Regions from separate parts of the Homo sapiens genome. Here regions 2, 3 and 4 are each linked to region 1. Evidence: promoter capture Hi-C in human tissues and cell types (Jung and others, 2019). All regions are on one chromosome and are shown on one strand. The core of a region is centred on a gene start or on the middle of the fragment in contact, and the rest is flanking DNA. Distances in the headings are between cores, read along the strand shown. Region 1 holds the start of IFNL3 (interferon lambda 3). Region 2 overlaps SAMD4B (sterile alpha motif domain containing 4B). Region 3 overlaps SAMD4B (sterile alpha motif domain containing 4B). Region 4 holds the start of LRFN1 (leucine rich repeat and fibronectin type III domain containing 1).

The links. The method cuts DNA at HindIII sites, captures the fragments that hold promoters and counts their contacts. A contact is called where the count stands out against the background at its distance.
Region 2: a contact is called between a fragment that was not itself captured here and the fragment with the promoter of IFNL3 in region 1, in 8 of the 25 tissues and cell types used here (H1 embryonic stem cells, liver, lymphoblastoid cells and 5 more).
Region 3: a fragment that was not itself captured here is called in contact with the fragment with the promoter of IFNL3 in region 1 in 14 of the 25 tissues and cell types used here (IMR-90 fibroblasts, bladder, dorsolateral prefrontal cortex and 11 more).
Region 4: the fragment with the promoter of LRFN1 here is called in contact with the fragment with the promoter of IFNL3 in region 1 in 4 of the 25 tissues and cell types used here (adrenal gland, heart right ventricle, mesenchymal stem cells and 1 more).

Annotation. Positions count from the first base shown.
Region 1 is chr19:39,242,001-39,249,303 of GRCh38, reverse strand. IFNL3 (interferon lambda 3) reads left to right here and starts at 4,298. Exons shown (of 5, transcript NM_172139.4): 1 at 4,298-4,516; 2 at 4,810-4,887; 3 at 5,147-5,296; 4 at 5,397-5,480; 5 at 5,574-5,751. The coding sequence starts at 4,337. The coding sequence ends at 5,672. It also overlaps the pseudogene IFNL4. The HindIII fragment of the contact is 34,684 bases long and covers 1-7,303 here.
Region 2 is chr19:39,365,315-39,372,617 of GRCh38, reverse strand. SAMD4B (sterile alpha motif domain containing 4B) reads right to left here. Exons shown (of 14, transcript NM_001384574.2): 4 at 2,493-2,963. It also overlaps the pseudogene RN7SL566P. Among named protein-coding and RNA genes, the nearest start is that of PAF1, 22 kb to the left of the region's middle. The HindIII fragment of the contact is 4,760 bases long and covers 1,928-6,687 here.
Region 3 is chr19:39,348,965-39,356,267 of GRCh38, reverse strand. SAMD4B (sterile alpha motif domain containing 4B) reads right to left here. Exons shown (of 14, transcript NM_001384574.2): 2 at 2,202-2,262. Among named protein-coding and RNA genes, the nearest start is that of SAMD4B, 10 kb to the right of the region's middle. The HindIII fragment of the contact is 6,332 bases long and covers 1,207-7,303 here.
Region 4 is chr19:39,317,992-39,325,294 of GRCh38, reverse strand. LRFN1 (leucine rich repeat and fibronectin type III domain containing 1) reads left to right here and starts at 4,432. Exons shown (of 5, transcript NM_020862.2): 1 at 4,432-4,502; 2 at 6,937-6,969. RefSeq lists a silencer at 4,584-4,843. The HindIII fragment of the contact is 12,533 bases long and covers 1,357-7,303 here.

The sequences.
Region 1 (7,303 bases), core at 3,049-5,548:
AAAGCAAGACTCTGTCTCTGAAATAAAATAAAATAAAATAAAATAAATTAAGCGTTCTCTTTCTCAGCTACACCTCCAGGGCTGCCCTGGTACAAAAATGAGATGATATGTCTGTGTCAATTACATAGAAGAGAGCCTGATGCACAGTCAACACTACACAAGGGCTGGTTGTGATTGCAGAACGAAGATAAAGACAACCAGGGTGAAGCAAAGAAAGAGGAAACAGACAGTAGAAACAGGGACAGAGACAATTTGGAAACCGAGTGTTGGAGGGCAGCCATCCCGGGCACAGGCCAACCTCGGGTTGAAGTCCTCACACCCGACTGGGATCCCAGAGGCCTGGGGCCAGCTCTGATGTTGGGAAAGCTTGCCCTGGACGGGAAAGCCCGGCTGCAAACCCCATTCTCAGCCCTGCGCATAAAAGCCAGCATGGACCGTCGAGGCACTGTTGCCCAGGTGGAGACGGCTCTGGACGCCTCCCAGGGGACAGTGGACGGCAGCACCTGCTGCAGCACGAGGCACAGAGGGTGCACTGCAGACAGGAGTGAGGGCAGAGGCCAAGGCGAGGAGGGGGCCGGCTCCCACTCTCTCTCCCACTGTGTGTGCTGTGCCTTCACGCTCCGAGCATTGCCTTCCCTGGGATCCTAACCCAAGGCGGGGGGCTGGACGCGCTGGACCCTCTCTTTGGCTTCCCTGACGTCTCTCGCCTGCTGCAGAAGCAGAGATGCGGCCGAGTGTCTGGGCCGCAGTGGCCGCGGGGCTGTGGGTCCTGTGCACGGTGATCGCAGAAGGCCCCCCGGCGCTGCCTGCTCTCGCACTACCGCTCGCTGGAGCCCCGGACGCTGGCGGCTGCCAAGGCGCTGAGGGACCGCTACGTAAGTCACCGCCCAGCCCCTGTGCCCCCTGGGACCCTGGCCCCACCGGGTTCCCATACACCCGTTCCTGTCCCAAGGGGTCCTGCGTCCTAGCGCCCAGCAGGCGCCTCTCCTATGTCAGCGCCCACAATTCCCACCACGAGACCCCCGCAGTCCCCGTCGTCAGCGCGAACGCAGGCTCAGGGTCAATCACAGAAGGGAGCCCTGCCGGGAGGACTCGGCTCCAGGTCGGGGCGAGGGGCTTTGCTGGGGGAGCGCGGAGTGCAATTCAACCCTGGTTCGCGCCTTCGGGGAGCTCCCTGGTTCAGTACACGACAGGCACGACCGTGCGCTGCCAGTACCCATCCACGTCCAGGAATCCCAGACTGTGCAGAGGTTAGGGGCCCTGGCGAGGGGGCCTAGCCGTATGCGATAAGCGCCGCTTGTCCCGCAGGAGGAAGAGGCGCTGAGCTGGGGGCAGCGCAACTGCTCCTTCCGCCCCAGGAGGGATCCTCCGCGGCCATCGGTGAGGCCCGGGAGTGGGCGGGAGAGGCATGGCCCGGGCGCGGCCCGCTCTAACGCCCTCTCGTCCCCGCAGTCCTGCGCTCGGCTCCGCCACGTGGCCCGGGGCATCGCGGACGCCCAGGCAGTGCTCAGCGGCCTGCACCGCTCGGAGCTGCTCCCCGGCGCCGGCCCGATCCTGGAGCTGCTGGCGGCCGCGGGGAGGGATGTGGCGGCCTGCGTGAGTGACGGCCGCGCCCCGCCGCCCCTCTCCCCCGCCAGCTTCTCTGCATCCTCAGGCCCACGGCGAGCCCCAGCGCTTTGCCAATCTGTCCTGCTTAGCGGAAAAACCCATCCAGACCGGAGTCGGGTCCTCTGGGTGTCCTGAAATCCGGGCTCGAGTCTGCGGCTGGGAGGGCCACGGGCAGATGCAGAGAGGGGCTTCGTCCTTCGCCTTTTCCATTTGCCTCATGTCCCACCTCCAGCTTGAGCTGGCACGGCCAGGCTCCTCCAGGAAGGTCCCCGGGGCCCAGAAGAGGCGTCACAAACCCCGGAGAGCGGTGAGTGCAACAGGCAATACAGGGTTAGCCCGCAGGGAGGACCAGGCGAGGCTGACAAGGACGGGACTGAGGCTGCGAGCAGCGGGACTGGAGGGGGATTCCGGGGGCGGGGGGAAGAGCCTGGCTTAGCCCCGCTGCCCTCCCTCCCTGGCTCCAGGACTCGCCTCGGTGCCGCAAAGCCAGCGTGGTCTTCAACCTCCTGCGCCTGCTCACGTGGGAGCTCCGGCTGGCTGCACACTCTGGGCCTTGCCTCTGACCCCGCCCCCTCTGGCAGCACGGAAACCTCCACGCCATTGGCTGCCGAAAGCAGCTCCTGTCGTCCATTGGGCTGGCCGGGCGAGGCTCTCAGTCAATGGGTGCTGAGGCACGAAAACTTCTTCGCAGCCTTGGGCCTGACTTGGATCCACTGTCTCAGATATAAGAGGAGCGGGTCCTTCTACAGGGAAGAGACCACAGTTCTCCAGGAAGCCACGATATTTCCTCGGGGTGCATTGTACGACCCTCCAACGGTTGCTGTGGCAGGAAAAAACTTGAGCTCTGGAAACCGTGGCTGACCCCAGGCAACAGGGACCAGTTCCTCCTTGTGTGGTTACCAGGACACCCCCAACACCAGGTCCTAACCCCGGATTTGTAGCCCCACAGCCAGCTTTGAGATTCTGTGAATCCGTGACTCTTGGATCCGGCATCTAAGGGACACCAATCCATGAGGGATTTGGTAGTGAAAGGCCCAAGGGTCCTTAACCGACTGTGGTTCTTTGGATTCCCTTACGTGTGTTTGTATTTGTGAAGTTCCTGTGCATTTGCTATTCTGTCTCCCGGTTTAAATTTATTGCCAGTTATCAAAGAGTGTTTTGATCGCATTGGTTGTTTTCCGTATGATGATTGTGAGGTGCACCTTACAGCAAAAAAAGAGGCCGAGCCAGGGACTCAGGTGGCCTGAGTTTCAGTTCTGACCCTGCCAGTTAATTACAGTGGAATTCAGGGCAAATTACTTTTCTGAGCCTCTGTTTCCTCACCTATAGGATGGGTTAGCATACTTGCCTTGTGGAGGAGTAGTGTCCGTTGAGATCACGTTTTAAACTCTCCAGCTGAGGTCCTAGTATGGTCTTAATGAGTGGATTCTATTAAATAATCACTCACATAAATACACAAACAATTGTGTTATTAATTTTTTCTCCAAATCTGTGCATTAGCAATCTGCGTTGCTGAATGCACCCCTCCTTGCCAAGGTCACACGGCTAGTGAGGGTCAGAACCAGGTTTGAACCCCAGACCCTTCATCTCCAAGACCCATGCTCTTCACCACTGCCTGAACTTCCCTAAGAAAGACGGCACCCACGTGGTGTCCTTCAAGTCCTTCGTCACACCTCAATTCTTGAGCAGAGCCTCATATTCCTGAGTCCTTCCTTGCCTGGGCAATTAAGAAATATTGGCCTCTGGGCATGGTGGCTCACACTGAAATCCCAGCAATTTGGGAGGCCTAGACAGAGAGATGACTTGACATCAGGAATTTGAGACCAGCCTTGCCAACATGGTGAAACGCCATCTCTACTAAAAATATAAAAATTAGCTGGGAATGGTGGCACAAATCTGTAATCTCAGCTACTTGGGAGGCTAAGGCAAGAGAATTGCTTGAACCCAGGAGGCGGAGGTTGCAGTTAGCCAAGATTTTGCACTGCACTCCAGCCTGGGTGACCGAACAAGACCCTGTCTCAAAATATATATATATATATATATATATATATGCCAGGAGTGGTGGCTCAGGCCTGTAATCTCAGCACTTTAATAGGCTGGGTGAGGAGGATGGCTTGAGCCCAGGAGTTTGAGGCTGCAGTGAGCTGTGATCATGCCATTGCACTGCAGTGACAGAGTGAGACCCTGTCTTAAACAACAACAAAACCAGAGCAGGTGGAATCCTCTTGGGAACATACCTTCCTGTAGGTTACCCCTGAGTCTCCATCAGTTTCTCTTTCCCTCCAGCTGCTCATCTGGCTCACTAGCCCTGCCCTGCTCTGGGCTTTCCCAGCCTGGGGCTCCCCTGGTGGCCGGTGTCTTACCTGAGGCTGTGTTTTCACTTTTCCTACATCAGCTGGGACTGCCCTTCTGTCAGGGATAAAAGCTGCCCCATGGAGCTCAGGCAGGAATTACATCCCAGACAGAGCTCAAAACTGACAGAAAGAGTCAAAGCCAGGACACAGTCTGAGATCCAGAAGAGGGGACTGAAAAGAACAGAGACTCCAGACAAGACCCAAACAGACCCTGGGTGACAGCCTCAGAGTGTTTCTTCTGCTGACAAAGACCAGAGATCAGGAATGAAACTAGGTGAGTCCCACATCTCTGTCCGTGCTCAGCTCCTGCAGCCCCTGCCCTCAGTGGGCAGCCTCTGCATTCCCTCAGCTCCCTTTCTCTCTGTGACACAGACATGACCGGGGACTGCATGCCAGTGCTGGTGCTGATGGCCGCAGTGCTGACCGTGACTGGAGCAGTTCCTGTCGCCAGGCTCCGCGGGGCTCTCCCGGATGCAAGGGGCTGCCACATAGCCCAGTTCAAGTCCCTGTCTCCACAGGAGCTGCAGGCCTTTAAGAGGGCCAAAGATGCCTTAGTGAGTCTCCCCCTGCCCTCCTGCCATGGACTAGCCTCCACCCGCACTCCAAGGGTCACCATGCTTTCCCACTCCCAGCTTCCTTCACTGGGCTAGCCTCCACCCTCCCTGCAGTGGGCTATCTCATGCTCCTACTGCAGGGACTGACTCATGTTTTCCTGAAGAAGAGGGTCCTCTACCATCCTCCCAGCAGTTAACCTCCCCTATCCTGTTGTCAGCCATCCTCCAATCCCATCAGAGTGGTCTAACCTCCACCCCTCCTGCTGGGGCTAACCTGTGCCTTTGCTGTCTAGGAAGAGTCGCTTCTGCTGAAGGACTGCAAGTGCCGCTCCCGCCTCTTCCCCAGGACCTGGGACCTGAGGCAGCTGCAGGTGAGAGGGGGAGTCAGGCCCACCCCTGCCCTCCCAGCCCTGCTCACCTGGCTCTGTAGTGGCCCCTTCACCTTCTCCTTCTCCATTGTCCCTCTCTCCTCTCCCCACACCTGCTACCCCTTCCCTCTGCTCCTACCTGACCACACTGGCTGTGCCCTCTCCCCTGTGCCTGTCACCTTCACTTGTTCCTCTCTATCCTCCTCCCCCAACCTGTTCCCCTCACCTCCCCCCTCACCTGCTCTTTCTCACCTCTCCTCAGGTGAGGGAGCGCCCCGTGGCTTTGGAGGCTGAGCTGGCCCTGACGCTGAAGGTTCTGGAGGCCACCGCTGACACTGACCCAGCCCTGGGGGATGTCTTGGACCAGCCCCTTCACACCCTGCACCATATCCTCTCCCAGCTCCGGGCCTGTGTGAGTCGTCAGGGCCCGGGCACCCAGGTCTGTGAGCTCTGAGCAGCGTCCTTCCCCTGGCCAAGGCCCCGGCTCACACACCGCCCTCCTCTGCCCACAGATCCAGCCTCAGCCCACGGCAGGGCCCAGGACCCGGGGCCGCCTCCACCATTGGCTGCACCGGCTCCAGGAGGCCCCAAAAAAGGTGAGTGACCCGGGAAGAGAGGGACTGAGGTCTGGGGAGCCACTGGGAGCCCAGAACCCAGACAGCCCCTGACCCATCCCCTCCTCCCTACAGGAGTCCCCTGGCTGCCTCGAGGCCTCTGTCACCTTCAACCTCTTCCGCCTCCTCACGCGAGACCTGAATTGTGTTGCCAGCGGGGACCTGTGTGTCTGACCCTTCCGCCAGTCATGCAACCTGAGATTTTATTTATAAATTAGCCACTTGGCTTAATTTATTGTCACCCAGTCGCTATTTATGTATTTGTGTATGTAAATCCAACTCACCTCCAGGAAAATGTTTATTTTTCTACTTTTTGAAATCCTTGTTGAAATAAACAATGAGGAAAAGACACCCATGACGTGGGACTGTGTGTGCGTTGGTGTGTATTTCCTTTGCATTGCTGCCATAACAAATTACCCTAAAAGTAGCATCTAGAACAGCAGGTTCATTGAGTCTGTGCTGTCCACTGGGGTCCCCAGGTCACATGTCACTATCGAGCACCTGGAATGTAGGTGGTGCAACCTCATTTTTTCAGTGAGTGTAAAACATACCCCAGAATTTGAAGATTTACTGTGGAGAAAAAAAAAAAAGTAAAACAGCTTAATTATAATTTATATATTCATTAGATGTTGAAATGATAGCACTTTGGATGTATTGGGTGAAATGAAGCATCTTTAAAATTAATTTAGAGCCTGGATGTGATTGCTCAAGCCTGTAATCACAGCACTTTGGGTGGCTGAGTTGGGAGGATCACTTGAGCCCAGACCAGCCTGGGCAACATAGCAAGATCCTGTCTCTATAAAAAATTAGAGAATTGGCTGGGTGTGGTGGCACAAGCCCATAATCCCAGCTACTGGTGGAAGCTGAGATGGGAGGACTGTTTGAGGTCAGGAGTTCACGACCAGCCTGAGCAACAGCAAGATCCTGTCTCTTGCGTGATCACATCTCACTGTAGCCTCAAACTCCTGGGCTCAAGTGATTCTCTCTCCTCGGCACCATCCTCCACCCTCTCCAGCCCCTCCCCGAACTGGGATTACAGGCTTGAGTCACCGGGTCCAGCCCATTCTCTTTCCAAGAAGCCCCTGAATTGTATAAGCAAACATGAGGTCTCACTAACCCTGGATAAGCCCCTACAGATGAGGAGGACAACTTGGATCAGGGACCCCTGCTGAGTAGAGTTGGCTGAGCTGCTGGAACAAAGAGTCCCCCAAATACAGTGATCATGAATTACAAACCACAGAGTGTCATTCTCCACCAGCTCCTCCTCCCAAGGTGAGCGCTCCCCCTGGCAGGATGGCCCCACTCAGTCATCCAGGGGCCCTGGTTCCTGGCAGTTCTGTGCTCCACAGTCCCCGGGACAGGGCTCCCTCATCATCTTCACCCACCGGACCTCACGGCAGCCTTGAAAAGCCTACGGACCCTTCTCAGAAGGAAAGAACACGTGCAGGACAAAGGAATCCAACTCTGATTGTAATACAGTGATCAAAATATTTTTTCACACTGTGACATAGCAATTCATGTGCTTCTTCATGAATGCATTAAGTAAAAAATCACCTGTGGCAGCTTTAATAACCACTGTGACTTAGAAGCAGAGATGAGCATAAATGACATTTCAAGGTGCCTGCTGGAAGATAACGTGATAGGAAATGCCTGTGATTTCTTTTGGTAACAGTCACAAGTTCTGCTAACACTGCTGTGGTGTGTTGCTGCATTTGTAATGGATTCGTGCTAGATGCAAGACTGGTCCCCAGAGATGTTCCTGATTCCTGGACCTGGGAATATGTTATGTTCCATGGCACGAGGGA
Region 2 (7,303 bases), core at 3,058-5,557, 120 kb before region 1:
AGAGATCCAGGGCCTTGCACTCTCCAAGAAATCCTGATCTGTTCTTGGCAGCACCCCAAACCCAAGCTGCCTGCCCTCAAAGGCCAATCCTTGCTCCCCACTCAAAAATATTTTAATGATTTCCTGTTTCCTGCAACTGCCTGGAATCCAAAAGCTTCTCCTGTCCTTCAACGCCCCCCAGAATGTAGCCTTCACACACTGAGGTCTGAGGGTAAAGACAGGCCTGAGTTCAAATCCTGACTCTGACTCTGTCGCCTCTGTGTGATCTTGGGCAAGTCACTTCATTCACCTCTCTGCCTCCATTTCTGCATGAAGTCCTTAGCAGAGGGATAGGCACACGGTAAGCACAAGTCTCTGCTACTGTTATTACTCATTCGAATCCACCCCAGCCAGATCTGTCTGTATACTGTCCCCTCTAATTATCCACCCCGTGCTTATTTCATGCTGTGCCTTCTACTTGGAATGCCCAATTCCTTTTCCTCTTTTGGTCCAAACCCCTATCAACATTGTTCAATCTTCATCCTTTAATGGCTGCTGGGGTACCCATGATGGGGAGCACAAAAGGTATGAAGACAAAGAAATTTATAGGCACCCTGCCTGGGTGACCCCTCCCCTTGGTGAGGGATGAGCATCTCCAGGAGAGGTACTTTTTGGTGGAGGTAGTGTAGCATAGTAGTTCAGAGTATGAAGTCTATAGTCAGAATGCCTGGCTTTAAACCTTGAGTTTATATGTATAAAGTTCTTAGAATAGCTCCTAGTAAAGACTAAGCACTCGATGTGTGTTTTTGTTTTTTTTTTTTTGAGATGGGGTCTCGCTCTGTTGCCCTGGCTGGAATGCAATGGCAAGATCTCGGCTCACTGCCACCTCCACCTCCTGGGTTCAAGCGACCTTCCTGCCTCAGCCCCCCGAGTAACTGGAATTATAGGCATGCACCACCATACCCAGCTAATTTTTATATTTTTAGTAGAGATGAGGTTTCACCATGTTGGTCAGGCTGGTCTCGAACTCCTGACCTCAGGTGATCTGCCTGCCTCGGCCTCCCAAAGTGCTGGGATTACAGGCGTGAGCCACCATGCCCGGACTAGCACTCAATATTTTTTGCCTAGAATGATCATTATTAATACATCCTCCCATCCTGGAACTGTGATGCTCCATGACTGGAAAATGAGGTCCAAGACACCTCAGGTTGCTAAGTTTCCTGAAACTGCCCTTCTATCCCTCTATCTTCCCAGGTTCTCACCAGCAACTGGGAGGGAGGCAGATGGACCAGAATAGCCACACTAACTGGGGGAAAAACAGGCTCAAGGAATAACTGATGAGCACCAGGTACCAGACAGCGGGGCATTAGGGACCCGAGGTTACCCCCACCCACTGACACATGTGACATTTCACTGTCACTCTCTCTTGTCTTGCTTTAAACCAGTGCCTGCTGAAGGTGACTAGCTACTCTGAGGTTTACATCATGAACCCTCTCCCTCACCCTGGGTCAGGTCATGCTGCCTTACCATGGCTTGGAAAATCCACCCTCCCTTATCCTGTGCATTTCAAAAAGTCACTGGGATACCAACAACTTCTGCTCACTCCCGCCTGCAGGGCTTTTACTAAGAGAGCTCTTTCAAACCTGCTTAGTTGGCAGGACAGTGTAGTGGTCAGAGGCAGGCTCTGCCATCAGACTGGTTGGGTCTGTTCCACCACTTGTTCTACGTGTGACTTTGAACACATCACTTCACCTCTGAGTCCCGATGTCCTCATCTGTTGAATAGGGCTAATGATACGGTTGTGATGCGGACTGAGATCATACCTGAAAAGTGTCTATAAAAGAGTACCTAGCATAGTCAATGCTGAAAAATGCTACCTACTATTACAAATACCTTGCAGCATGAGTTTTGTCTTATACAGACAGTGTTCTCAGAAACAAAGCTGTAAAGTGAGGCCAGATACATAAAATCCATAATGTTGTCTGAACTGGAAGGGATCTCAGATGATGGTATGCACACCTCCATCAAGCGTCATAGCCTGATGCCCTTAGAGGCCAGGTATATATCAGAAATGCCCAAAGGGGGGTTGGTGGGAGCAGAGGCAGACTAGGGCACTTGTGCAGGGTCTAAAGGGCATGCTCAACATTAAGCTCTATATTATTGCTGCCACTAGGAAAACAGATCTTGTTGAGTTGCTAGATCTTTTGACTTCTCAAGAAAGGCTGGAAATCTCATTTTTAGGGAAAAATTCTTGATTCTTTGTACCACTCACATTTATTTAAAAACCCAACACAACAAAATAAAACCAAACCAAAGTATGGGTTCAATAAGACATGTCTGTAGGTCAGATTCAGCTCTGGGAAAGCCAGTTCACAGCCTCTGCATTGCCTCATAAAGTTGAGGCCTACAGCTTATGTGACTTGTCTAATGCCACAGAGCGAGAGAGCTCTCACTGAGCCTAGTCCAACCTTTTTCAAGTAGGCATGGCCTTCTGGGACACCCCCGCCACTTACCTGTGTTTGCATTGCTCCCAATACTGTTGATGGCTGGCGGCACTGAGCTGGATGGGTGGAAGGGCACGTGTCCATTTTCCCGGGGTGGCTTGTCCTGCCAGCCTGGCCCTGCCTCCCCAGGGCCTAGCTCTGCAGGGCCCCCCCACTCATCTGAGCCTTGACGTGAATGGTAGGAGGGCTCTGGCCGGGAGCGGAAGCCACTAGCCAACCGCTCTTCCAGGTGGCTCAGCCAGAGGGCCAGTGCGTTGCGGTCCTCCAGTGTGGTGGCTGGGTGGATGAGGGCATAGGAAAGCAGCTGGCGACTCTCCTCGATGAAAGCATTGCTCTCGATTGAGTAGGCCAGCACTTTCTGCAGTAGCCTCATGTACTCCGACTTGGCCTCTGTGTTGCCTGGCTGAAGCAGGGGAAGGTGGGACAGCAGGAGGGACACCACCTTCTCTTTGGACTCCTGCTGCCACTGGCTGACGATGGCTACAGAAGGGATAAGAAGAAATATCAGGAGAGCCAGGGTGGGGTACTCCTATTCACCTGAGAGCACTGCCTATGGCCTATTCCCTCAGCTCCAATCTTCTTTTCATAACGATTTTCTTTTCATAACTCCCAAACTTATCCCTCATATAGGTGAGATCAAACACACTGACCCTGCCTCTGGAGTAATTTTTGTCTTATTTTTTTTAAGAGATGGGGTCTCACTATGTTGCCCAGGCTGCAGTGCAGTGGCTATTCACAAGTGCAATCCCACTATTGATCAGCACGGGAGTTTTGACCTGCTCCATTTCCAAACTGGGCCAGTTCACCCCTCCTTAGGCAACCTGGTGGTCCCCCACTCCTAGGAGGTCACCATACTGGGGCCACACTTAGTGCAGACACCCAATCAGCATAGCACACTATAGCCCAGAACTCCTGGACTCAGGCAATCCTCTTGCCTCAGCCTCCCAAGTAGCTGGTACTACAGTCATGTGCCCACCACAGCTGGTGTAGAGTAATTTTTCTTTGTTCTATCACTCCTGTTCTCAGAAACCTGCAGTGCCTCCCAATCAGCCAAACTTGCTACTCTGGAATCTGAACAACTCCTGTCCCCAGGCCTGCTCTCATGCTTTATCTCCATGACTCCTTCCTCCATTCTTCATGGCCTCTATGCCATTTCCCCTGCCAAAAAGCAGTCTCCTTCCTGAATGGAGAAGGCAGTGGTATATGGTAGTTAAAAGCTTGGGCTCTGGAATCAGATGGTCTAGACACCCCAGCTTACTAGCTAGATCTTGGTAAGCTACCTTGAACCTCATGGAGCACTAAATTATCTGCGAAATTTTGGAGATAATTACAGTACCCAATTCACAGTGTTGCTTTGAGATTCAATGAGCTAGCAAAGAACACAAAGTGGTTTGGCGACATAATAAATGCTTGCTATTGTTTTTTAACTGGTCTCTCTGCTTCTAGATTCTCCCCTTCCAATCGATCCCATACATCCAGATGCATTTATCTTCCTAAATCACAACAGGATGTCATGTTCCTGACCAGGAGTTTATAATGGCAACCAGCAAGCACCAACAGACTCAAGTCCAAGAACTCCTAGCCTAACATCACCTTCATTTCCAGGGCACCCTCCATCTCCCATTCCTCCAGATAAAGACTCAGCTCAGGATATCTCCCCATCTTCCTTGGGGTTCTCTCCACAGTATGTATTTATCCAAGCTCCACACCTTGGCTGAGATTCAAGGTTTTGGCCCGCAACAACCTCCTTCCTCCTATACAAATTCTCTTTTGTAGATGGCCTAACTTACTACCTTCCTCCAGGAAGCATTCCCTGGCTGTTCCATGTCATGGTCATCTTGACCTCTCCTTTCTATCCCACTGTGTGAGGACCTGAGTCTACCCTGTGGAGATAAGCCAGGTTTCCCTTTTCTTTTTTTTTGAGGCGGAGTCTCGCTCTGTCGCCCAGGCTGGAGTGCAGTGGCGCGATCTTGGCTCACTGCAAGCTCCACCTTCTGAGTTCATGCCATTCTACTGCCTCAGCCTCCCGAGTAGCTGGGACTACAGGCGCCCACCACCACGCCCAGCTTATTTTTTGTATTTTTAGTAGAGACAGGGTTTCACCGCATTAGCCAAGATGGTCTCGATCTCCTGACCTCGTGATCCACCCGCCTCAGCCTCCCAAAGTGCTGGGATTACAGGCGTGAGCCACTGCGCCCGGCCTCAGGTTTCCCCTTTCAACCCACAAGGGAGGTCCCTAAGAATATGGCCCCAGGCTGGCCACATCAAAGAAGGCTTGGGTAGGAACTGTTACAAGTCTGACTCTCCCCCTCAAAGACCTTATTAGCACTGGGCGTGGTGGCTCACGCCTGTAATCCCAGCACTCTGGGAGGCTGAGGCAGGTGGATCACCTGAGGTCAGGAGCTGGAGACCAGCCTGGCCGACATGGTGAAAGCCTGTCTCTACTAAAAATACAAAAATTAACCGGGCATGGTGGTGGATGCCTGTAATTCCAGCTACTTGGGAGGCTGAGGCAGGAGAATCACTTGAACTCGGGAGGTGGAGGTTGCAGTGAGCCGAGATCGCGCCACTGCACTCCAGCCTGGGGGCAAAGTGAGACTCCGTCTCAAAAAAAAAAAAAAAAAAAAGAAAAAGAAAAAAAAAACCTCATTAGCACTTCTGTGACTAGCTAAACAGGGTGGAAGATGGAGATAATGCTGACAGGACAAGGAGAGGGACAAAAAATACCAATACTTGGGAAAAGAGACAAAGATTTAGGTCTGAGGCCAACTACGCTCTCACCCTTGGGCAACTGAGCTCACATCTGTAGCCAAGGTGATGACTTACAAATATCTCACAAAGGAGTTCTGAGAGATGTGCTAATGGTGAGGTCTTGGAAATGGGCAAAGGAGCTGGCTCTAACCAGACAGAGCTAGGACCCCAAAGGAGTGGGTGATGAAAAGGAATAGGCAGAGATGTGGCATATGTCCCTTTACCACCACTTACTGGCCATGTGACTCTGGGCAAGTGTGATCACTTCACTGAGCTCTATTTTCTCTATCTGTAAAGTGGAGCCCAGAATCATTCCTACCTGGCATGGCTGCTATGAATTATGTGAGGCCACAGCATAGAGTAAGTCCTCAGTAAACACTAGCTGCTTTTACTAGTATTGTGGTTATTATATCTCACTGTGTCTCCCTCCTTTCAGATACACACAGAGATTCTAAAGGCACAAGCCAAATCTCTGGGCCCAGGAAACCAAGAGGCTAGGAATAAGCACCTATAAGGAAAGTCTTGGAAACCTAGACATCTGAGGGTCTTTCAACCCAAGTTCCTTAGGCCTTTACGATTCCAAGGACATCTAGCATGCTTCAGGATTGACTTAAAAAAAAAGTTCCATGGACTTCTGGTCTCCTCTGCCCACACTGAAGGATGGACACCTGGCCTTGCATACAAACTCAGAAATGCCCTGTCTGTAGCCCTATTTCTCTTAATGATCCCCTTAGAACTCTGTGGCCTAGAATTCACATACACTCCTAATTCTGCTTAAGTTTGTAGCCTTAGGAAAATGAATCTCACACAGTTCCTAACTCCTGGCTATAAAGACTGTGCATTTTCTTGGCCTGGGGCTCTTTGCTCTAAGCTTCCAAGAGAGAACACCTGTTTGTTAGTTTTTGTTTTCTATTTTTCTGAGATGGAGTCTCGCTCTATTGCCCAGGCTGGAGTGCAGTGATCTCAGCTCACTGCAACCTCCGCCTCCGGGTTAAAGTGATTCTCCTGCCTCGGCCTCCCAAGTAGCTGGGATTACAGGCGTGCACCACCATGCCTGGCTATTTTTTTTTGATGGAGTCTCACTTTGTTGCCCAGGCTGGAGTGCAGTGGCACGATCTCGGCTCACTGGAACCTCTGCCTCTGGGGTTCAAGCGATTCTCCTGCCTCAGTCTCCTGAGTAGCTGCGATTACAGCCACATACCATGACACCCGGCTAATTTTTATATTTTTAGTGGAGGGGGCGTTTAACCATGTTGCCCAGACTGGTCTGGAACTCCTGACCTCAGGTGATCCACCTACCTTTCCTCCCAAAGTGCTGGGATTATAGGCGTTAGCCACCGTGTCCTGCCTGTTACTTTTTTCACTATGTTGGCCAAGCTAGTCTCAAATTCCTGCTCTCAAATGACTTGCCCACCTCAGCCTCCCAAAGTGCTAAGATTACAGGCATGAGCCACTGTGCCCAGCCAAGGGAACACCTGTTAAATCCATTCATTCAAAGTCATCAACTCATACTATGTCTACAGCATTGGTTAAAATTAATAGTAGAACCAATACCACTATTGCTGTTGCTACTACTGACAATAGCAATAACATATGGCACTTTCATTCAGAATGAAGGATACTGTTTATTGAGCATTTACTATGTGCCAGACACTATGCTAAAAATGATTGCTTTTCATCCCTGTTTTAATCCTGTTTTGGTGTGCTCATCTTGCAGGTGAGAAAACAGATTTGGGAAGGTGAGGTCACACACCCTAAGTGACAGAGCCCATTAAGCGACACAGCTGAGATCTGAATCCAGGCTCTGTGTGCCTCCATTTTTTTTTTTTGACATGGAGGCTTGCTCTGTTGTTCAAGTTGGAGTGCAGTGGCATGATCTCGGTTCACTGCAACCTCCACCTCCTGGATTCAAGCAATTCTCCTGCCTCAGCCCCCACCAGTAGCTGGGATTACAGGCGCACGCCACCACACCTGGCTAATTTTTATATTTTGAGTAGAGACGGGCTTTTGCCATATTGGCCATGCTAGTATCAAGCTTCTAAACTCAGGTGATCCACCTGCCTCGGCCT
Region 3 (7,303 bases), core at 3,123-5,622, 110 kb before region 1:
CTGGCCACCTTCTCTGAGAGCTGGGCAGTGTGACTCCTAACCTACTGATAGGACTCCAAGGGCTCTTTAAATTACTTCAAGCTAGACCCACAATGCTGGGTAGAGGATGGATGGTCGGGTAGTGACCCTGGTGGAGATCTCAGGTATGCAGCCAGCCATCTGATTAGTAACTGGCTGGGTATCTATCAGGTGTGGGCATGGACAAAGGGCTTTTCAAAGATCACCAACAGGCTGAGGGAATCTCACCCTCTCTAACCCAGCTTCCCTGACTCTGGAAAAGGCACAACTCTGATTTATCAGATTTTACCCATCTCTATTCTGAGGTGAATCGCTCCCTGCCCTCTTAATTCCCCTGAAGACTCCAAACCTAAACTCTCTGGTTGGGAAGTCCCCGACTTCCAGAGATGCCAGCTTGTCTCAGGCTCCTCCTGGAAGCAAAGAAAATGCCAACCTGAGGGGAAGGGGACAGATCAAAAGTCAAAAACTCACAAGCTACAAAGTGTCCAAATTCCCCTCTTAGGCAGGAACTAAAGAAAAGTTATTTCAACTGGGCAAACAACAGACCTATTTTTCAGGTGGTTGGTTTCTGGACACCACTCCGAAGGCTTTTTCTAAGTGTCTCGAGCTCCAGATCTCCACTCAACATTTCTTCCATCTGTCTCTCTTGCAACCAGTGCCCTTGGCTCTATCCTCAAACCACATTCAGCTCCATCCCCCTCTGGCTGCCAAAGGACTAAGGTTCCCCGGACTGAGAACTTCATACAAAGACCCATTGAACCTACTGGGCTCAGGTCTAAGGGAGCTACTCACATCTCTCTGAACTTCCGTGCGCTTGCTGAGGAGGGCTGTGGGGTGCATTAGGCAACAGCTGTGACTTGCCTCACAGATCCCCTGTGGGACCCCTAAACAGACTGAACTGGCCTGGTTGCCAATCCCTTTGGATGTAAGAAGCAGGAAAGGTATGAGGGAAAATGAAACCTTGCTCCAAGTTAAACAAGCGTCCAGCAATTTTTTTTAAAGGGGAAATCAGATGTCACCTCCCTGGCCTAAAATTCTCCAATGACTTCCCATTGCACTTAAATAAAATCTAAATAAGGTCAAGCATGGTGGCTCTCACCTGTAATCCCAGCACTTTGGGAGGCTAAGGCAGGTGGATCACTTGAGGTCAGGAGTTCAAGATCAGACTGGCCAAAGTGGCGAAATCCCGTCTCTACTAAAAATACAAAAATTAGCCGGGCGTGCTACTGCACGCCTGTAATCCCAGTGACTTGGGGGGCTGAGGGACGATAATCGCTTGAAGCTGGGAGGCGGAGGTTGCAGTGAGCTGAGATCATGCCACTGCACTCCAGCCTGGGTGACAGGGAAACTCTGCCTCAGAAAAAAAGAAAAAAAAATTTTAAACAAATTCCAAACATCTTATCTTGAACTACCGAGCCCTATAGGACTCCTGTGGCCACTCCAACCTCATCTTGTACCAAATTATTTCTTATTCAGTGGAACTGTCTTCCCCTAGAAGCTGGCTCCTGTCATTCAGGTCTCAGCTCATTGTCATTTCTTCAGAGAGAGCTTCCCTGACCATCCAATCTCAGGAGTTACTCCTCCAATTATATTAACACTATTTCATTCCTATATAATTTGGCACTCTCAGGTATCATCTTATTTGTTTCTCTCTACTGACCAAAACGCAAGCCATACAGTCAGCCAGTGCCTACAACAGTGCCTGGCACGTAGAAGGTGCTCAATATATATTTATTGAATAAATAAATAGCTATAGAAGGTGAATGTGGAAGCCACACTTGGGATTTCTATAGCCCTAGGGGGGAAGAAGATAGAAGGAACAGCTCATAGGATGGTAAAGGGATTTGAAAACCTTGTTTTAAGAAAAAAAAATTGAAGGCACTGAGATTTTCCTCTGGGGAAGAGAAGACTCAAGGGGAATGGCATAACTGACTTTGAATATCTGAAGAGGTAGCACGCAGAAAAGAAATTATATTTGTTCTTTTACTCTAGAGGAGAAAAGCAGGGTAGATGACTCCAAGGGAGTGACAACATGGGATAGAGGAAATGCTGAAAGTCAAGAAAATTCAGTTCTAGTCCTGCCCAAGCCACTGATTCACTTTGATCACGGAGCTAGTCTGTTCTCTTCTCTAGAATGTAGGATAAGGAGCGGGACTGGGTGAGACATGACAAATAGGTTTTACCTCACAGGCTAACTCCAATCGATTGGTAGTGGCTGCCTGGAGCACTGCGATGAGAAGAATCCTGAAGAAATGAATGGGAATATCCATTAATGGGGAATGATTAATAAACTGGGGCAGATCCCACATTGTATGATATAACGTATCTATTAAAAACATGCCTAATCTGGCCAGGTGTGGTGGCTCACTCCTATAATTCTAGCACTTTGGGAGGCTGAGGCAGGCAGATCACTTGAGGTCAGGAGTTTGAGACCAGCCTGGCCAACATGGCGAAACTCCATCTCTACTAAAAATATAAAAATTAGCCGGGTGTGGTGGCGGGCGCCTGTAGTCCGAGCTACTTGGGAAGCTGAGGCAGGAGAAACGCTTGAACCCGGGAGGTGGAGGCTGCAGTGAGCCGAGATTATGCCACTGCACTCCAGCCTGGGTGACAGAGCGGGATTCCATCTCAAAAAGAAAACAAGAAAACAAAAAAACAAAGCTATATACAATGTTTGATCTGTAACTACTTGGAGGGGTGTCCATAAGCTACACAGTAATATGTACAATATAATGCCATTTTTTAAATTAAAAAAAAGCCACATACAAAACCCCTTATATATCTTATATATGAATATTTATGTCTATATGTGTATAAATGTATAGAAGAATACACCCTCGGCTGCTAACACTATCTTGGAGAAACAGGGGGATTATTAACACTATCTTTATATAACTTTGTACTACTTCACTAGTTGCAAGTGAATACATATTACTTTTGTAATTTTTAAAAAAGAATTTAATTAAAAACAATTTTAAGGCAGCATACTTCCTGACTCAGTGAGAAAGAGTGCTGTGATTAATTATCAATGTTTGCCCTGGATGCAGGGTGGATGAGTGGTAGCTCACGCGCCTAAAAAAATCGGTTTTCCTTCCCAGCTCCAGCATTTTGTGGCTTTCAGTCCCAAAGAGGCAGCAGCTGCTTCAACATAAGGAAGAATTTTAAAATAACGCATCTGTCCAAGAATGGAACTGGCTGCCATGTGAGGAGGTAATAAGCTCCCTGGCTGCTGGAAGTGGTCAAGCGGAGGCTGGATGAACATCCCTCGGGAGTGGGAGGGATTCCTTCACTGGGTGGCAACTCATAAGATAGAAGGACATGTTACTATTTCAGAGGGAACATTTGTGACAGGAGGTTTGATATACCAACAGCATTTACAGCAAAAAAACGACCAAATCCACAAACAGACCAAAGTTGTGCACACTCTTTCCCATAAATTCTTTTACTGGGTTGTTACTTTTCCTAAGCAACAGCACTGTTCCCCCCCTCCACCCACCCAATAAGCTGCTGACTAAACATTAATCCAGCTTTTCCCCCCAGGCCAAACGATAGAAGCAAAGCTTTCGGACATAATAGGGTCTCAAACATGATGCTTACAAGGCCAGGCTTTGAACAAAGCAGGCCAACTGGGACTATGGTGAGTTGGAAAGTCCACACCCGGTCAAAAGGGAGAAGTCACTATCCACCTCTTATCAACTGCTACCATGAAGGAATGTGGGTCCAGTATTGTTACGTCTTAGGTTTTTTTTTTTTTTTTTTTCCCCTAAAGAGGAGCCAGATATCTGAATTTTAAAGTAAAATCCCCCCCTATTTTCAAATGTGGGAAACGAATCACATTGAAACAATAGTGAACAACTACACAGAAGAAGACATACCTGTGGTCCTTGGAACAGAAGAGCACAAACTAGAAAAAGACCAGAAGTCTGCTAACTATCCCTCCCTTGGGCCTCTCTGGTTTATACCTTCAAGCCACCCCACTGCTCAGGGAACATGACTGGTGGAGAAGATCTAGTGATGGAGGATGATTCTGACAGTCTTCAGTAAATACTGGAGGCTTTAGTGAAACAGTTACTTTTAAGATTTCACTGTTAAAAAAAAATCATCCCTGAAGGTAGGGTTCCTATGTCTTCTGGATGAGAGAAGGATGCTTTGTGTTCGGTCTAGATGTTAACTGGAGAGGACTGGATGGCCCTCTTCCATTAAAGGGCCAGAGGCCGCCTGCTACTTTCTATCCCATGTGCTTGGCTGAAGTGACAGAGGGAGACCTGGGTGAGGCATCTCACTGTGGCAGCATCTTACTGTATCCATTTCCATCTTCTAGTATCAACACCCTGGGTTCCCCTTGGAGAAGGAACTGTCTTTCTTGGCTCCAGAAGTGGACATGGGGTAAAGCCTGGCCAAGGATAGTCCTCTCTGGATTTTTGCTGGAACTACTAAGGAAAATAAGTTCTTGGTTAGGGTTGCTCAGATTACACATCGTCTCATGATGTCACCAGTTGCCACCTCTTCTATTTCACGGTGGAAGCCTGCTTCAGAATGAAACTAACAGATGACAGCAAAGTCAAGAGATGGGGGAGGGGGAAAGGGAGATCTGTTCACATGATTTAAAACCTAGATGCAGCTAGCCTGAAGCCTCCCCCTTGTGGCCCACTCTTTTCAGTTACATAGATGAATAAATTCGTTTTTGACTTAGGCCAGTTTGAGTTGGGTTTCAGTTAAAACTGAAAGAGCCTTGACAATTCCCATGCAAAACAGAATGCACTACTGGTCTGGTCTCTTTGTCCTCATGTGACCAAAAATGACTCCTTGCCTTTGAGGAAAAACACAAGAGGGGAGCCTCTATAACAGAAGTCTCTCCAACAGCCCAGCAATATTGCCACCATACTTGAAGAGGTCCAAGTGATCTTCTTGGGAAGCCCCTACCACCTCCAGAGGTGGGAAATGAGGTTAACAAAATGGCTAAGAGGGCTGGGTGCAGTGGCTCACGCCTGTAATCCCAGCACTCTGGGAGGCATGGGCGGGTGGATCGCTTGAGCTCAGGAGCTCGAGACCAGCCTGGGCAACACAGTGAAACCCCGTCTCTACAAAAATTACAAAAAAATTAGCCAGGCGTGGTGGCGTGCACCTGTAACCCCAGCTACTTGGGAGACTGAGGCGGGAGAATCACTTGAGCCCGGGAGGCAGAGGTTGCAGTGAGCCAAGATCGTGCCACTGCACTCCAGCCTGGGCAACAGAGTGAGACCCTGTCTCAAAAAACAAAAACAAAACAAAACAAAAGCCAAAGGTTCCAGATCAGCAGCCTGGGCAACATGGCAAAACCGTTTCTACAAAAAATCCAAAAATTAGCTGGGCGTGGTGGTGTGCACCTGCAGTCCCAGCTACTTTGGGAGGATCACTTGAGTTCTGGAGGTCGAGGCTTCAGTGAGCTGAGATCATGCCACTGCACTCCCACCTGGAGAAAGGCTGGGCACGGTGGCTCACGCCTGTAATCCCAGCACTTTGGGGGGCCGAGACGGGCGGATCACCTGAGGTCAGGAGTTCGAGACCAGCCTGGCCAACACGGTGAAACCCTGTCTCTACTAAAAATACAAAAAATCAGCTGGGCGTGGTGGCAGGCGCCTGTAATCCCAGCTACTCAGGAGGCTGAGGCAGCAGAATCGCTTCAACCTGGGAGGTGGAGGTTGCAGTGAGCTGAGATTGCGCCACTGCACTCCAGCCTGGGGGACTGGAGACTTTGTCTCAAAACAAAAACAAAAACAAAAACAAAAAAATGCTGAGATGTTCCAGGACAAACTGCCCTCTGGGCTTCTTCTCTGGCCCCAAACAGTGAGAAAAGGCCCATATGCCCATAAACAGTGCCTCTGGAGTCCAGCTCTCTTCATTCAGAAGCAGGATGGTGGAGTTAGTCAGACCTGGCTTAAATCCTGGCTCTCCTGTTATACTTACTTGCTGTATTGACTATGACAAGTAACTCTGTTTCTTCCTCAATGAAGCTTGTTAGAAGAATTAAATGAAACAATGTATTTAAAAATACCGCGCATGATGCTTTTTTCCTCCTCTATACTTCATTTCAATAGCAAGCATGATGCTTAGCATGTCTTCATACATCATACATTGTCAGGCCCTTTGCCAACAGCTTTCCACAGATAAGCACATTTGATCCCCAAAACTCTATTTCAAAAATATATAACATACATATATGAATATATTATCATTTTACAGATGGAGCAACTGAGGCACAGAGAAGTTAAGTCACTTTGCCCAAGACTGTACACCAAGCTGAGATTTTCAAGGCCAGGCAGTCTGGCTTCAGAGCTCTTGCTTGCTCTTAACAATGCAAGAAAGCTGGGCATGGTGGCTCACATCTGTAATCCCAGCACTTCGGGAGACTGAGGTGGGCAGATCGCTTGAGCCCAGGAGTTTGAGACCAGCCTGGGCAACAAGGTGAAAGTTGGGCCTAAGGGCCCTTTAATACCAACATCTCTGGATGAATAAGGGGATCCTATCTGCCTTCTTACCCATTCCTAGTTCTTTTTACAGCACGACCTAGGCCTTTGAGAACTTACACTTCATGAACAAGGTAACAGGCTAGTTACCTAGGGTTAACTCACTTTCATAACCTGAGAAGAGACTGTCAGAAGCCAAGGGAGCACAACTTCTCTTATAAGAATCAACCATTATTTCCAGAAACTCCTGAAATACGTACACAAAACATGTACACCACTGCATTAGCAAAGAATGAGCTTTTTGTATGAATGGTGCTGGGGAAGGGAGGGAGAGGAGAGGAGAAGCCAGGCAGGGCCTCCTGGAAGATAAGTACAGTATGGGGAGCTCCGGTAAACTCTGGAATAGAGAGGAAGCTAGCATTCTTCCTCCCACTCCTAAATGTCTTGACACCCCTTCCCCCCGAAAAGTTTATTCTCTGCTTCCTTTCCCTTCTTTACACTTGTTTTCTCTCACTTAGGCATGTAATTAACTCCTGTAGATTCAATCATCACCTCTCTGTGGACAACTGAGACATTTTTTTGAGTCATCTTTGACTTCTTCCATTTCCCAAAGACCCAGTCATTAGGTCTTGATATTTCTTTTTTCTTAATGTCAGCTACACATGCCTTGCTTATCTTTCCCCAAACCTAAGTGGCTCTAGAACCAGACTGCCGGGTTGGAAATATAAGCCTGCCACTTACTACCTGTGTAATTTTGGGCAAGTGATTTCACCTTGCCATGCCTGTTTTGTCATCTGTAATGTGGGTGTAATAATAGTACCTACTGAGAAGGAAGACAG
Region 4 (7,303 bases), core at 3,183-5,682, 76 kb before region 1:
GTTTACTGAGTTCCTGGGTGGCAGTCACTATTCTGGGCACTGGAAGATGTTGGTGTCCGTGCCACTTCCCTTGGGAGGCTTATATTTCAATGACTAGACAGTAAATAAATAACAATAAATAGGTAAACAAGTAAACAAAATAAGAGGGTGACAAGAGCCAGGCGCAGTGGTTCACGCCTGTAATCCCAGCACTTTGGGAGGCCAAGGCAGGAGGATGGCTTGAGCCCAGGAGTTCGAGACCAACCTGGGCAACACAGCAAGACCTCATCTCTTTTTTCCTTTTAAAATAAAAATAAAGAGAGTGATAAATACTATAAGGGAAATAAATAAGGTGATGTGCTAGATAGAAATGGTGGCACCTGGTGGGGCTGTTTGTTGCCGCCAGAAGAGTCCTGCTTCCCCACTCCCTAACATTTACTATGAAACATTTCAAACATGCAGCCAAGTTGAAATAATTATATATATATGTGTGTGTGTGTGTGTATTATATATATATCTATATATATATTTATATAAAAGTTTATTAGAGATGGGGTCTCGCTATGTTGCCCGGCTGGTCTTGAACTCCTGGGCTCAACTGATCCTCCCTCCTCGGCCTCCCAAAATGCTGAGATTGCAGATGTGAGCCACCACGCCCAGCCTGAGTTGAAATAATTTTATAGTGAACACTCATATACCCATCACTTAGATGCCACCACTGACACGTCAAGGTATTACTTCATCATATATCCATCCAGCCACCCTTCTTCCTCCTCCTTCTCCTCCTCTTCCTCTTCTTCCTCCTCTTCTTCCTCCTTTCTTCTTCCTCCTCCTCCTTCTTCTTCCTCTTCCTTTCTTTTCTTCTCTCTTTTCTTTTCTCTTCTTCCTCCTCCTCTTCCTCCCCTCCTCCTCCTCCTCCTCCTCCTTCTTCTTCCTTTCTTCTCTCCTTCTCCTTCTTCTTCTATTTCAAAGTAACATCAGACTGCTGGTTGGGGGCCCAGGTAGGGATGGTGTGTGTAAATTGGGGATGGAAAAGGAAGGTCTCTTTGAAGAGATTACATTTAAGACCATCATGAAAAGAAAGAACCAGCAGCCATGGAAAGGGGAGAAGAGTGCATATGCTCAGGGGCTGCTGCTGTGGGCTGGTGTGTTGGAGGAATAGGAAAGTCATCGTAGAAGCTGAACAAGGGGTCGGATGCGGTGGCTCACACCTGTAATCCCAGCACTTTGGGAGACTGAGGTGGGCGGATCACTTGAGGTCAGGAGTTCGAGACCAGCTTGACCAACATGGCAAAACCCTGTCTCTACTAAAAATACAAAAATTAGCCGGGTGTGGTGGTGGGCGCCTGTGGTCCCAGCTACTCAGGCTGAGGTAGGAGAATCGCTTGAGCCTGGGAGGCAGAGGTTGCAGTAAGCCGAGATCATGCCACTGCACTCCAGCCTGGGTGACAGAGTGAGGCCCTGTCTCAAAAAAGAAAAGAAAAGTCATTGTTAAAACTGAAAGAGGGGCCAGGAGTGGTGGTGCACGCCTGTAAACCCAGCACTTTGGGAGGCTGAGGCGGGAGGATCACTTGATCCCAGGAGTTCCAGACCAGCCTGGGCAACATAGTGAGACCCCCATTTCTAAAAAAAAAAAGAAAAAAAAAAAAAAGAAGAAGAAGAAGCTGGAACAGAAGAGGAGAGTCGTTGGAAATAGGGTCAGCTGGGACCAGAGCTCACAGGGCCAGATTGGCTCTATGAATAAGGCATATCTCCCTCGGTTTCAGCTTCTTTCTTCTTCCATCTGTCTCTCTTATTATTATCTTTTTTTCTCTCCCTCTCTTTTCTACTCCTGTCCAGCCCAGGCCTACCCTCACCCTCTTTCCCCATCACCCCTACCCTGTTCTGCCACATACTATCTGTGTGACCTTGGGCAAGTGACCAAACCTCTCTGTGCCTCTATTTCCCTTATCCATAAAATGGGGATGGTAATAGGACCTCTTCATTTGGCTGTTGTGTAGATTGAATGAAGTGATAGATGTGAAACCCTTAGAATCATTTCTGGCACATAAATAGTGCTGTATATGTGTTCACTTGTGTTGTTGTTGTTATTCCTACCCCCAAGCTCCAGCAGGGAGCACTAGCAACCACGGTGGGAGGTGGGGATGCTGCCTGGGTGGTGGCGATGAAGGGTGGAGTCTGGAGAATAGGGGGATTGTGAGTGTCCCCAGGGACATCTCAGAGTTGCGCTTGGGGTTAAGGTTCACCAGAAGGAGTTATCTGCAGAGCTGAGCTTGATCTGGGGGATAGGGCGGGCTTCATGTAAATAATTTAGGCCAGGCACAGTAGCTCATGACCACCGTGGTCAGGAGTTCAAGACCAGCCTGGGCAACATAGTGAGACTCCATTTATAAAAAAACTAAAACAAAACCAAAAACAAAACAGCTACTGAGGAGGCTGAGATGGGAGGAACACTTGAGCCCAGGAGGTCCAGGCTGCAGTGAGCTGTGATCACACCAGTGCACTCCTGCCTGGGTGATGGAGTGAGACTCTGACTCAAAAACAAACAAATAAAAAAAAAGAAAGAAAGAAAAATTAGACTGGGTGCGGTGGCTCATGCCTGTAATCCCAGCACTTTGGGAGGCTGAGGCGGGCGGATCACTTGAGGCCAAGAGTTCGAGACCAGCCTGGCCAACATGACAAAACCCTGTCTCCACTAAAAATACAAAAAGTAGCCAGGCATGGTGGGACATGCCTGTAGTCCCAGCTACTCGGAAGGCTGAGGCAGGAGAATTGCTTGAACCCGGGAAGCAGAGGTTGCGGTGAGCGGAGACCATGCCAGTGCACTCCAGCCTGGGCAACAGAGCAAGACTCTGTCTCAAAAAAAAAAAAAAAAAGAAAAGAAAAAAGAAAAAGAAAAGAAAAATTAGCCGGGCGTGGTGGCGCACACCTGTAATCCCAGCTACTAGGGAGGCTGAGGCAGGAGAATTGCTTGAACCTGGGAGGTGGAGGTTGCAGTGAGCCGAGATCGTGCCACTCTACTCCAGCCTGGGTGACAGAGTGAGACTTTGTCTAAAAAAAAAAAAAAATTAGGAAAGGGGTTTAGAGGAGGACCTCTGTACAGTGGGATCCAAAACGAGAAGGGTTTGAGACCCCAGGAATCTGGGGCACTGCATGAAACAACACAGATTTTTAGGGGAGAAGTTGCTGGGTTTAGGGACCCTGTGAATATCTCAGAAAGAGAAGGAGAGTGGCCTGAGATACTCAGTGGGGTTTGAGGGAAGGGGTGGGGTTCAGCTATGGGACAGGGGATGGGCAAAGGGGTCTGAACTAGGAAGGAGCAAGGCATTCTGGGCTCTATGGAAGTCACAGGGAGGGGGGACTTTCAGGGTCCAAGAGAAAGAACTGGAGCAAGAAGGAGGCAGGGTCCTCAAGGGGGCAGGACTAGTAGGGGGTGGGAAAAAATTGGGGCTAATTGGGGAGTTTTGGAAACCAAAGGATGTCTTGGAGGAGAAGGAGAGAGAAAGGTGTAAGGTCAAAGGGGTGGAAGATGGTTTGGGGTCTAATGGGGTTCATGGGGAAAGTTTAAGGGTCTTCCATAGGGATAAGAGACATTTTAGGGCCCCCTAGAAGTTAGGCATGGTTTGGAGTTCATACTGGGGGTAAGGGAATGGGTTAGGGTCCTTGAGGGTAGAAGGACATGGCTGGGGGTCCCCAAGAAGGAGTGGAATATGATTTGTGGTTCTGGTGGCTGTAGAATGTGGTTTGGGTCCCCAAAGGGAGTCAGGCACCATCTGGGATTTGGCTGACATATGGTCTGAAGTCTCCCCCGATGTTAGGGTATGATTTGGGGTCCGTGAGGGAAGGGGTGTGGTCTGGGGGTCTATCTGAATGTTGGGATATGATTTAGGGTTGCTGGTGGGGTGGTCTGGATCCCCTTGGATGCTGGGATATGATCTGGGATTCTTCTGGGTTTGGGGGCATGGTCTGGGGTTCCTGACAGTGTGTGGGTCATAGTCTGAGGTCAAGCAGGAGAGCAGGGCATGATTTGTGGTCCTGGGTGGCCCTAGAACATCGCCTGGGTTCTCAAAAGAGGTGAGGCCTGATCCGAGGTCCCCCTGGGTATTAGGACGTGATGGGAGGTCTCTGTAGGGAGATCCGGGGTCCCTAGGCCAGTTGGGGCGTGGTCTGGGGGGGTCTCCGGGGAGGCCGGCGGGGCTGGGGGTGGGGCTGGGGAAGGGTCGGGGGCGGGCCCGCGGCGGCTCGGCAGTGGAGAGGGGTCTGCGGCGGGTTCGGGGCGGGGATCCCGGGTGTGCGACCGCCCCGCCCGGCCGCCCCCACCAGTCGGCGCCCCCTCCCCCCTTGCGGCGGCGGTGGCGGCGGGCGGCGCGGAGGGCGGAGCTCGGCTGCGGCTCGGGAGGGAGGGCGGGAGGCGGGAGGGAGGCGGCCCCGCGGCACCGCGCCCCCTCCCCCGGCCCTCCCCCCACCATGGCGCGGAGCGAGGCAGCGGCGGCGGGGCCGGGCCCGGGGCCCCCCCGGGCTGGGTGAGCGCGGCCTGCAGCGGCCCGGGAGCGGCGGGCGGGGGCGCGGGTGTGTGCGCGGGTGTGAGCGTGCGAGCGTGCGAGTGTGTGTCCGTGGCGCTGCGGCGGGCCCGGCGTGCGCCCGCGCGGCCCTATGTGTGCCCGGTGCCGGCGTGTGCGGCGCCCTGCCCGTGTGGCCATCGGGTGTGCGCGGGGTGTCGAGCCCGGCCGGCGTGTCCGGCTGTGCACGCGTGTCCCCCCGAGCGGCCGCCCCTCCGGCTGTGTGTCTGGGCGCTGTCGCGCGCCCATCGGAGGGGCTGTGTGCAGGTGTGTGTGTGCGTGGGTTGTGTGCCCAGGTGTGGGTCCCCCCCAAGCCCATGTGCGTGCGCGACTAGCTGCTCTGGGTGTTTGTGTCCGGGTTGGATGTCCATCCCCGGGTCTGTGGAGCCGGGTGTGCCCGCTCGGGTGTCCATTTGTGTGTGTGTGTGTGTGTGTGTGTGTGTGTGTGTGTCTGCGGGTTGTATGTCTCCGAGGGTGTGTATCTGTGAGTCCACGGCAGGTTGCTGGCTTGGGGGCTGAGGCTCGGCGCCCAGGCCTCGGTGTGGATTTGGGGGAGGGGAGTTCGCCGCTCCCTCGGTCCATGTCAACTGGGGGGTCCTTAGCGGTCCTGGGGGAAGCGGCCATGTCTTCCCCTTCCCGGTGGTTGCGGGGGGGGGATGGGCGGCCAGGAGGTGGACAGATGGAGGGGGGATGAGAGGCCGAGAAATGGACAGATGGGCCCTGAGGTGGGGGTTGGGGGGCGAAGACCCGGCCCTTCCCCACCCACTCCACCCTAATTCCCCCACCGGCCAGACATCTGCAGACGGAGCCAGAGTTACCTCCATCCTGATGGCCAGGCTGGGGAACCTTTGGGGCTGCTGGTGGGAGGATCTCCTTGAAACGGTGATCTAGGACTCAAACCCCCAAATCCTCTTGAGTTTCCACCTGCTGAACTCTGACCTCTGGCCTGGCTTTTGCCCTGGTTTTTTGGGGGTGTGGAGGGCAGGATGCTGAATGTGCTGCAGGGATGTTAGGATTTCTTGGGCCTGGGAAGTAAGTAGGTGGGGTGGTGGGGGGGTGCCTCAGGGCTGGGAGGAATGTGTGTCCAAGACTGTGTGAGTGTGAATCTGGGCCTGTCTACTGACTGTGCTACTGTGGTTCAGTATTTTCTATGCATTTGGAAGTGTGTAAATCACAGGACTGTTGTGTGAGCATGTGTCTGTTATGAGTGAACATCTTGGCGTGTCTGCAAAGGTGGATCTTTTTGTGCCTGTGTGCGTGTTCCAGTGTGGATCAGCCTCGTATCTGTATGCTTGTGGTTTTGTGTGTGTGTGTGTGTGTGTGAGGTATGTATCTGTTAGCGTGGTGCTGTATCAACTTTGCAACATGGAGATGTGTGAAGTATGAGTGTGTCTAGGCATTTAAGAGTGTGCACTTGTGTATGTTTGCACAGGTGTGTGTGTGTTTGTTAGATGTGTGTGCCCCTGTGTGCTGGTGAGTGTGCAAGGTAGATCTGTTGTAAATGCATGTACCTGGTTGTCTGTTAGGGGGCACATGAGTTTCTCTGTTGTATCTGTGCATTTGTGTGTGTGAACTTGCATGGCAGAGTCAGTGTTGTACATGTATTGTTGCATGCAGGTGTGTCAACCTTGAGGGTATGTATCCATCTATGTTGTGAGTCTGTTTGTGTTTTGGTGTTGGTCTCTGGGGGTTGTGTATGTTCAGACATGTATGTGAAAGACACATGTGTCTGTGCCCTGGCACAAGGCTGTCCCTACTCTTGGGTTCAGTGGGTTTGAGGCCCATGTGGCATGACCTCTGGTATACTGGGGTCCCGCCTGGGGTCCCTGGACACAGTGTGTCCATATGCCAGGCCAAGTGCCCATAGAGGGCGGAGGGCACACAGATCATGTTGCTATGTTCATAGAAATCCAGATGTAGAGACTTGGGTTGTGGGCTTGCGTGGGTTCTGACATGGACACACATGTTGGTGTGGGCAATAGTATCATGGCAAGGATGGGAAACTTTGGCCCTTCCCCAGCTCTTGGTACCGTTCAGGACTTTGGAGTTGAGGGGCTGGGATGTAAACTCTTGGGTTCTAATGGAGGGCCAGAGGTCTGGTCTGGACTCTTGGGTCAGAGGGAAGAGGGGGCTGGGGTTCTTGGCTCCTGAAACCCCAGAGGACAAAGGGCTAAAGTCCTCGACTCCTGGGCTTTGGAGGGTGAACAACCCTGAGGCCTAATCTAGGATTCCAGAGAGGACTTCTGGGTTCCTGTGAGACTATGCAAAACCCGCCACAGGAGGACTGAGAGCGTGATCACACCAGGGACTTCCTTGGCCGGGATGGTCTCCAAGGCAAGATCTGGTGCACAGAGAAGAGCCAGAACGATGCTAACAAGGTGGTTCTGTTCCTTTGCAGGTGCTGGCCCAGGCCCTGACTCCCTGAAGAGAGGTGAGTAGAGCCGTAAGGCTTCAGAGAGAGAGAGACATGGGGGGTGATGGGGCTTGCTGTCAGCCAGCTGGGGGTCTGGAACCCTGCCTCGCATGGATTTCAGTTCAGGGGATGACAGTTTCCTGAAGGACCAGTTGCCCACCACTCTGTCCAAGGCTGGGGAGTGGTGACAAGGTCAGGAACATCAAAGTTGGGTGAGGGCTTGTGGTGGCCAGGTGGCTCTGGGGAGCAGGTGGGGGGTTTCAGGCCAAGAGACATTCATTCTCAGGATGGTTAAGGTGTTTGGGAAAGCAAGGTTTCCTCATGATATCAGTAAAGGATACAAGAATATGTC